Regions from separate parts of the Homo sapiens genome. Here region 1 is linked to region 2. Evidence: promoter capture Hi-C in 16 types of primary human blood cells and fetal thymus (Javierre and others, 2016). All regions are on one chromosome and are shown on one strand. Each heading gives the region's core, a stretch centred on a gene start or on the middle of the fragment in contact. The rest is flanking DNA. Distances are from core to core; before and after follow the strand shown.

Region 1 (4,464 bases), core at 422-2,921, 390 kb after region 2:
GCGACAGAGCAAGACGCCCTCTCAAAACAAAAACAGAAACAAAAATTAGCTGGGCATGGTGACCTGCGCCTGTAGTCCCAGCTACTCAGGAGGCTGAGGTAGGAGAATCGCTGTAACTGGGAGGCGGAGGTTGCAATGAGCCGAGATTGCACCATTACACTCCAGCCTGGGCAACAAAGCGAGACTCCGTCTCAAAAAATAAAAAAAACAAACAAAAAAAACACCAAAAAAAAGGTTTTTTTCAGGAAATTTAAGGTTCAGGAAGACCAGGTGAGCCAACAAGGAGACCAAAGGCAGGGCAACCAGCTGGGAGCTCTTCTAGAAGTCCTGGCAAAAAGGATGAGAACTGGACTAAGGGGACAGTTAGGAGAGAAAGAGGCACTGCAACATCACGATACCCGCAATTATATGGCCAGCTTTCCAATAGTTTCCCTCACATCCACGGTTTCATTCCATTTGCTCCAAAAACCTTTTATTTGCAGGGAATATTACTCACATGGTACAAATGAAGAAACTATGTCTCAGAAAGGGGAAACGATTTGTCTAAGATTCCTCAGTGAGTCCATGGAGGAACTAGGGCTAGGGCTGAAGAATTCTGTGTGTCCACTAACTGCCAAGCCCAATCTAGCTGCTTGGAACATATATTCGATCATTATGACAAATTAATATCCTCATATTGCACAATTTACACAGAAGCACAACTGCTCCTGGACTCCCTTGAGAGCACAGCCTATTGGCTGCCAACCTTCCTGGGAGCCAAAGCTTTCTGGGGGCTATGGCATCTTTCCATGAGGAGAGAAACCCTCCCCACAATTCCCAGAGTAACCACCCTAACTTCTCCCTTTGGGGAATTGCTTAGGGCCAGAATGAGTCTGAACCCACATGTTTGGTGGATGTTACAGCTGTTCTTAGAGAAGCAATAACACTCCATTCTTCCCAGAGCTAGGACTGAAACTCAGGGCTAAGGATATTCTCAGCATTTCCCTTGTGCATTTGCCTCCCTCCACCCCACTACCACCCTGATCCAAGCCATCATCATCTCTCATCTGCATTGCCAAAACAGCCTTCTACCAGTCTCTTTGATCGAGGCCGCAGACAGTTCTGTGGTTTGTGCATTGCACAAGGACATCTGGCTAAGGGGCCCAGTAGGGGCTGAAATCCAGCCTGTACTCTAGTGCCAAGCCATGAACCCTGGTGTGGGGCTACACCTGCAGGAGGAAGAGGCATCTTTCTCTTTAGACAAGGGCCCTTTCTTTTTTCTTTTTTTTTTTTTTTTTTTTTGAGACGGAGTCTTGCTCTGTCGCCAGGCTGGAGTGCAGTAGCACAATCTTGGCTCACTACAACCTCTGACTCCCTGGTTCAAGCAATTCTTCTGCCTCAGCCTCCCAAGTAGCTGGGATTACAGGTGCGCACCACCACGCCCAGCTAATTTTTTTTTTTTTGTATTTTTAGTAGAGATGGGGTTTCACCATATTGGCCAGGCTGGTCTTGAACTCCTGACTTCGTGATCCGCCCGCCTCAGCCTCCCAAAGGGCTGGGATTACAGGCATGAGCCACTGTGCCCGGTGACAAGGGCCCTTCTTTCCAAGCCAAGTGCCATGGGGCTATGTCCACCCAGAGGAAGCACCTTTTCAAAGTCACACAATGATAGACAAACAGCACTTAAAGCAACCCTGTTCCCACTTCCACCTTTGCCCCCTATAGTTTAGTAGGCAACCAGAGGTGTCCTGTGTAAAGCAAAGTCAAATCCCTCCCCTGTTAAAAATCCTCCTATGGCTCCCACCTCACTCAGAGTCAAAATCAAAGTCCTGGCGGGACTCAGTGGCTCATGCCTGTCACCCCAACACTTTGGGAGGCGGAGGCAAGCGGATCACCTGAGGTCAGGAGTTCGAGACCAGCCTGGCCAACATGGCGAAACCCTGTCTCTACTAAAAAAAAAAAAAAAAAAAAAATTAGCAAGGCATGGTGGTGGGCGCCTGTAATCCCAGCTACTCGGGAGGCTGAGGCAAGAGAATTGCTTGAACCTGGGAGGCAGAGGTTGCAGTGAGCTGAGATCGTGCCACTGCACTCCAGCCTGGATGACAGAGTGAGACTCCATTTCAAAAAAAAAAAAAGAAAAGAAATCAAAGTCCTTATAGTAGTCTATAAGACCACACATGATCTGGCCTCTCAATAACTCTGAACTTTTCTTTTTTCTTTAATGTGTTCCCATCGTTAAGCAATTTCTCCAATATGACTTCCTACCTCCCATTAGCTCTACCCCAGCCACACTGGCCTTGTTTCTGTTTCTTAAACATATTAAACTCATCCCATCTAGGGTTTTTATACTTGCTTTTTCTTTTGCCTGGAATTATTTTCCTCTAGATATCCACAGCACTGATTCCTTATGCTTCAGGTCTCAGCTCAAATGTCATCTCTTTAAATAGGCCTTCCCCATCTACTTTATTTAATGCTGTCTTCCCCACTCCACCCCCAATGTACCACTCTATTACTTTTTCATGTTTTATTTTCTTCATATAACTTATTACTCTCTGAATGTGTTTATTTATTATCTGTCTTGCCCACTGGAATGTAAGCTTATGAGAGCTGAGAACATGTCTGTCTTGTACAGTATTGTATCACAGCATCTAGAACAGTGCCTGACCCAAAGCAGGTACTGAATAAGTTTTTGTTGAATGAATCAATCTATGACTTTTCTCTGATAACCAGAAGTGCAGCCTCGGCTAGGGGTCCCCTATAATAGACTCACACACACTGGGGAATAAAGCTGATACTTAGGGAACAGACTTAGGATATCCTAGGTTCTATGAGGCCCACAATAGAGCCCAGAGCACAAGTTCTTTTGATTCTTTATCTGGAGGAATGGGAAGGAAAAAGTATTTGTGATATCATTGAAATTTCAGGGAACAGTCTTACTTCCAAAATTTCTTCCATCATTGCATCAAAGTCCTAAGAGTGAGCCAAATTTGGGTCAAGTGCCCATACCATGTCTATACCAGGGATCAGGTAAAGAAAAGATCTGGCCCCTTCAGTTTTTGTAATGGGAGCCTGCAGTGTGAAGCAGGTGTTAGGAATTCCCCTCTTGCCAAGACTGCACACAGTGGAAAGTATGAAATTGGATAGCCCCCAAAAAGAACAACTGTCATGTTTTTAGGCGATGAAGTGGGAGCCTCAGTCTGAAGCAACCACTTGACAATTTCCATGAGGAAGTGGAAGGGGGGATGTTTAAAGGTATTGGCTGGTATGGCCATCCTTGCAGGAAATGCAAAGCCAAAGCCACACTGAGTGTTAAAACTGGTCAAGTAGTATATACATTTATTTACTTATGTTTTTACTTAAATACCTAATAAAATGTAAAGTTAAGTAATATTTATGTCCTTTTGTGGGAAGCAAGGAGGCTATAGAGTCCATCTCCCACCAAGTTGAAGATGAATCTCTTCTGGGGGAATTTTTCTTTAAAGCTTTTTCAGTTAAAAAATCATTTAGGCCAGTCGCAGTGGCTCACGCCTGTAATCCTAGCACTTTGGGAGGCCAAGGCGGGAGGATCATGGGGTCAGGAGTTCGAGACGACGTTGGCCAACATGGTGAAACCCCGTCTCTACTAAAAATACAAAAATTAGCTGGGCGTGGTGGCGCACGCCTGTAATCCCAGCTACTCGGGAGGCTGAGGCAGGAGAATCGCTTGAACCCGGGAAGCAGAGGTTACAGTGAGCCAAGATCACACCACTGCACTCCAGCCTGGGCGACAGAGTGAGACTTCATCTCAAAAAAAAAAAAATCCTTTAAAATTGTTTAGAATCCTGTCCGGGCACGGTGGCTTACGCCTGTAATCCCAGCACTTTGGGAGGCTGAGGCGGGTGGATCATGAGGTCAGGAGATCGACACCATCCTGGCTAACACGGTGAAACCCTGTTTCTACTAAAAATAAAAAAAAATTAGCCAGGCATGGTGGCAGGCGCCTGTAGTCCCAGCTACTCCGGAGGCTGAGGCAGGAGAATGGCGTGAACCCGGGAGATGGAGCTTGCAGTGAGCCGAGATCTTCCCACTGCACTCCAGCCTGGGCAATAGAGGGAGACTCCGTCTCAAAAAAAAAAAAAAAATTAAAAAAAATTGTTTAAAATCCTGAATCTCTTTGGGCAGAGCGCTTTAAAAACAATAAAAATGAAAGTTTTTTTTTCTTTTTTGAGATAGGGTCTGGCTCCGTCACTCAGTCTGGAGTGCAGTGGCGCCATCTTGGCTCATTGCAACCTCTGCCTCCCAGGTTGAAGCCATCCTCCCACCTCAGCCTCCTGCGTAGCTGAGGGACCACAGGCTCGTGCCACCACACCCAGCTAATATTTGAATTTTTTGTAGAGATGGGGTTTTGCCCTGTTGCCAAGGCTGGTCTTGAACTCCTGAGCTCAAGCAATCTGCCTGCCTCGGCCTTCCAAGTGCTGGGATTACAGGAGTGAACCACCATGCCCA
Region 2 (4,075 bases), core at 1-2,500:
GCCCCGCCCGCTTTCCCAGCACGAGCCCTTTCTTTGATGTCCACCGTGCACATGCGCATTCAGCAGCTGGCTCTTCTCAGTGCTGGCCCTTCTCAACACGCCCCTTTCTAGCGAAACATAGTGCGCATGCGCAATGGTCGTGGTCTCAGTCTGGCACTCTGCCCCAACACACGCCCCTCTCCAGGTCCGCAGTACCATTCGGTCCCGCCCCCTGCCCAACAAGCCTTCCTCCAAAATTGTCGCAGTGTCTGGTGGACCCGGCCCCTCCCCTACTCACGCCCTACAGAGTCCAGTGTCTCTTGGCCCCGCCCTTCTTCCTAACACGCCCCCCTCCAAACAGGCGCATCTTGGTTCCGCCCCTTCCCTATTACACCCCCTCCTCAAATAAATACTGAGCTAGTGATTCCATCTTGGGCCCGGCCAAACCGGGTCCAGTCCCCTCCCTTCCCAGCCGGATGGATCCGGTACGATCCGGTCCTTAAGGCAGGTTTTCTCCAGATCCCAGAGGGTGGGGCCGACCCCTAGCGGGGCTCTCATCCAAAAGCCGACCCGGCTGCTCACCTCGTCCTCCTACAATTCCCGAGTGCGTCCACTCACTCCAAGCCCCTCCGAAACTCGGAGACTGCCCTCCCCTCTCTAGGCCGGAAGTGGTCCCGCCCCTTTCCGCCTCCCTAGGGGGCCTCCGTCCCAGCCTGTCTGCCCCTCCCCCGCTCCCTGCTCCTCATTCCTTATGCCCCCCTCCGTATTCCCTTAGCCTGGCTCCCTACTCCCTATTCCTACCTCACATTTCCTATTTACTCCAGAATTCCTTCTTCCCATTTCTTACATCCTCCTCCGTGTTACGTTTGCACACCCTGCCCCTCAGTATTCCTTAATCCCTCTCTGCATCCCCGATTCTCTTCTCTGGATCTTCACTCCCCCTCAGTGTTCCCCTCCCTCCTTGTATTCCTCGTCCCCCTCCCAACATTCCTGGTTCCCCGTTTTTCTCCCCTCCTCCCTCCGCTAGTCTCTGCTCCCAGTCTGTACAGCCTACTACTTTCTCAGTCGTCCTCATTGCCTACACCCCACTCCAGGTCACCTCTGCTTCAGCTGCAGTGGTGCAGTAAGAATTGCTCATCTGCCTGGCTATGGGTTCGAGGGGTCTGGAACCACTGTCTGACCTCCATAAAACCCCAATATCAACGCCCCTCACCTTGTCCTCCAGCGAGTTCGGGATGCGTCTGCCTTCTCTAAGTCCCTCTCGAAGTCTCAGCCTCCTGGACTAGAGCTGCAGACAGCCCAACCCAGCCCAGCCCCTTTCCGCAGCCCCCTGCCACCCCCCCTCGCCTTCCTCGGGGGTGGGGCAATGGGGCCCCGCTCAGGGCTGTCTGACGCCAAAGCCCATGTTTATGCCACTGTACCAGGCTCAGTCTGAAGCTCTTCCAACTCAAACCGCCCCCTGAAAGCAAGTCATTCATTGAATTTATTTTTATATCTTCATTTTTTCTTATTACAAAGGTAATATGTTGTTCTTTTGTTGTTGTTGTAAAAATTCAAACAATGCAGTAATATATAACACACCAATGAAAGGCCACTCATCTCCCAGAAATAACCACTATTAACATTTTGCTATCCAGATTTTTTTTCTATTCGTATACTAATTATTCAGGTTCTCTCTCCGACAAATGGTACACTATACATACCTTCTGTTCTGCGACCTGTTTTTTTCCAGTTATATATAAAACATCTTTCCGTTAGTGCACATTTTTCTAAACAGCTGCATGATCTTTTCTTGCATAGATGTCCCATAATTTATTGAACCAGTCCAGTACACATGTACATTTAGATTGCTTGGTGCACTTTTTGTTATTTATGGTATTTTTTGCTAGCTCAAATGCTACAAAAAAGTCTTCCATTTTGATGCAAAATTTGTCAACTTACTCCTAAAAAGTAAATGGATAACATTCCCGCCAGCAATGTCTCTCCTGTACATGTCACATATTACAAATATTTTTCATGTTATTTATGATAATTTTTGCCAAACAAAAATGTTTAATTATTATGTAGTCAAATATATCCATTTTTCCTTCATCACAACTGGATTCTGCTGCTTGCTTAAAGATGCTTTTCACACTCCTATAACAAACCCCGTTTTTTTTTTCAAGCACTTTTGTGGCTTTATTATTTACATTTAGATGTTTGATCATTTCAAAATTTATTTTCTATACGGATTCAGCTTGATTACTCTTCAAAATCATAGTCTCTTACCTCTACATCATGTGCAAACTAATCCATCTTTTCCCTCTCTGCTTTGAAATGGCACCTCTATCACATAATAAATTCACATAACCAATTGGATCTGTTCAAGAGAACAAAATAAGATGTAAAATAATAGGAAATAGACAAATCATCATTAATTACTGAATATATAAATGCAGACCTGGAAAACCCAAGAGCATCAACTAAAAAGTTATTAGAAACCATAATAAAATTCAGCACAACTGTTAGTTGCAGAAATAATATTCAGTGCCTTTCCACATATAAATGTAATTCAAATGGACACAAGTCTTCTGCTTTATGTGGTCACCTTTTACTATGTAAATAACATATAATGAATCCCTGTGTTCCATGGATAATTCAAGATAGACAAACACACAAATTTCTTGCATATTCAAGGCAGGCTTCTGTTTTCCTGTCTTTTCTCTTTCTCTGAATTATTGCTTTCTCCAAGTGTGTGATATCAGTTCACCATGTTCTTGCCTCCTAGATTTTCTCCCTTATCCACACTAGACATAGCCCCTCCTTTTCTTCTACTTCTGGCATCTCAAATTCCCCACCCCTTCCAAATCATGGCAAGTTGGCAAGTTTAGAATGCCAAGATGAGGACTTTGGTGTTGATCCTGAGAGCACCCAGGAGTTACTAAAGAATTCTAGGCAAGGATACAGCATAGGTTTGTGTTTTAGAAAGAACACCTAGCTGCTATATGGAGTGTGGATTAGGTGTTGTCTTGGAAACAGGGAGAGTGCTTATGACTTTTGTAGTCATCTAGGTAAGCAATGATTGTGCTTTGGCCTAGAGTGGTGGCAGATAGTGAGAAGTGATTGAATCGAGGAGATAGTAAAGAAGTAAAAAGTAACTGGACTTGAGTAACTGGATTGTGAAGAGAAGGGCAAGGAGGAGGGGAGTGTCAAAGGGAACTCTTGGCGATCTGATTTGAGAGATTGTGTGAATGGTAACCCCTTTCACTGAGATCAGGAATACTGAAGGAAGAGCGGGTTTGAGGAGCAGGTTAGACAAGAACTGAACATTGCTTTTGAGGCACCTGTGGCATGTCCAGGTGGAAATGTACCACAGGCAGTTGAATATACATATCTGAAGCTCAGAGAAGTGGTCTAGGCTGAGGTTATAGATCTAGGAGTCATCAGTACATAAATAGTTCTTGAATTCCTGAGAAAGGGTAACAGCACCCCGGTGAATGCGTAGTGCTAGAAGAGACATGGGCCCACGGAAGAGCCCTGCAGTCCAACAGCATCTTTGGTATAGGTGGAGGAAAAGAAACTCATGAAAGAGGCTGATAAGGAGTGACCAAAGAGGCAGAGAGAAAAACAGGAGAGGGCCGGGCATGGTGGCTCACACCTGTAATCCCAGCACTTTGGGAGGCTGAGGTGGGCAGATCACCTGAGGTCAGGAGTTCAGGACCAGCCTGGTCAACACGGTGAAACCCCATCTCTACTAAAAATACAAAAATTTAGCTGGGTGTGGTGGACCACACCTGTAGTCTCAGCTACTCGGGAAGCTGAGGCAGGAGAATCGCTTGAACCTGGGAGATAGAGGTTACAGTGAGCCGAGATTGTGCCGCTGCACTCCAGCCTGGGTGATAGAGTGAGACACCATCAAAAAAAACAAACAAACAAACACAAAAAAAAAAACCGGAGAAAGGAGTGTCACAAAAGTAAGGGAAGAGATTGTTTCAAAAGGAGGGAGGAGTCAAGGTCAATAGTGATGAATGGTGCCAAGAATCAAGAAAAGTAAGACCTGAAAAAATGTCTGGGGATTTTGACGATCAAGTGGTGGTCTCTGGTGACCTTGGAAGGA

Evidence for each region. Contacts are between HindIII fragments. The CHiCAGO score rates a contact against its expected background, and 5 or more counts as called.
Region 1: a contact is called between a fragment that was not itself captured here and the fragment with the promoter of MAGED2 in region 2, in 1 of 17 cell types (activated CD4 T cells). The highest score is 5.5, in activated CD4 T cells.

The regions. Positions count from the first base shown.
Region 1 is chrX:54,410,577-54,415,040 of GRCh38, reverse strand. No RefSeq gene overlaps it. Among named protein-coding and RNA genes, the nearest start is that of TSR2, 28 kb to the left of the region's middle. The HindIII fragment of the contact is 1,814 bases long and covers 765-2,578 here.
Region 2 is chrX:54,804,920-54,808,994 of GRCh38, reverse strand. It overlaps MAGED2 (MAGE family member D2), which reads right to left and starts at 1,250. Exons shown (of 13, transcript NM_177433.3): 1 at 1,193-1,250. The HindIII fragment of the contact is 6,434 bases long and covers 1-4,075 here.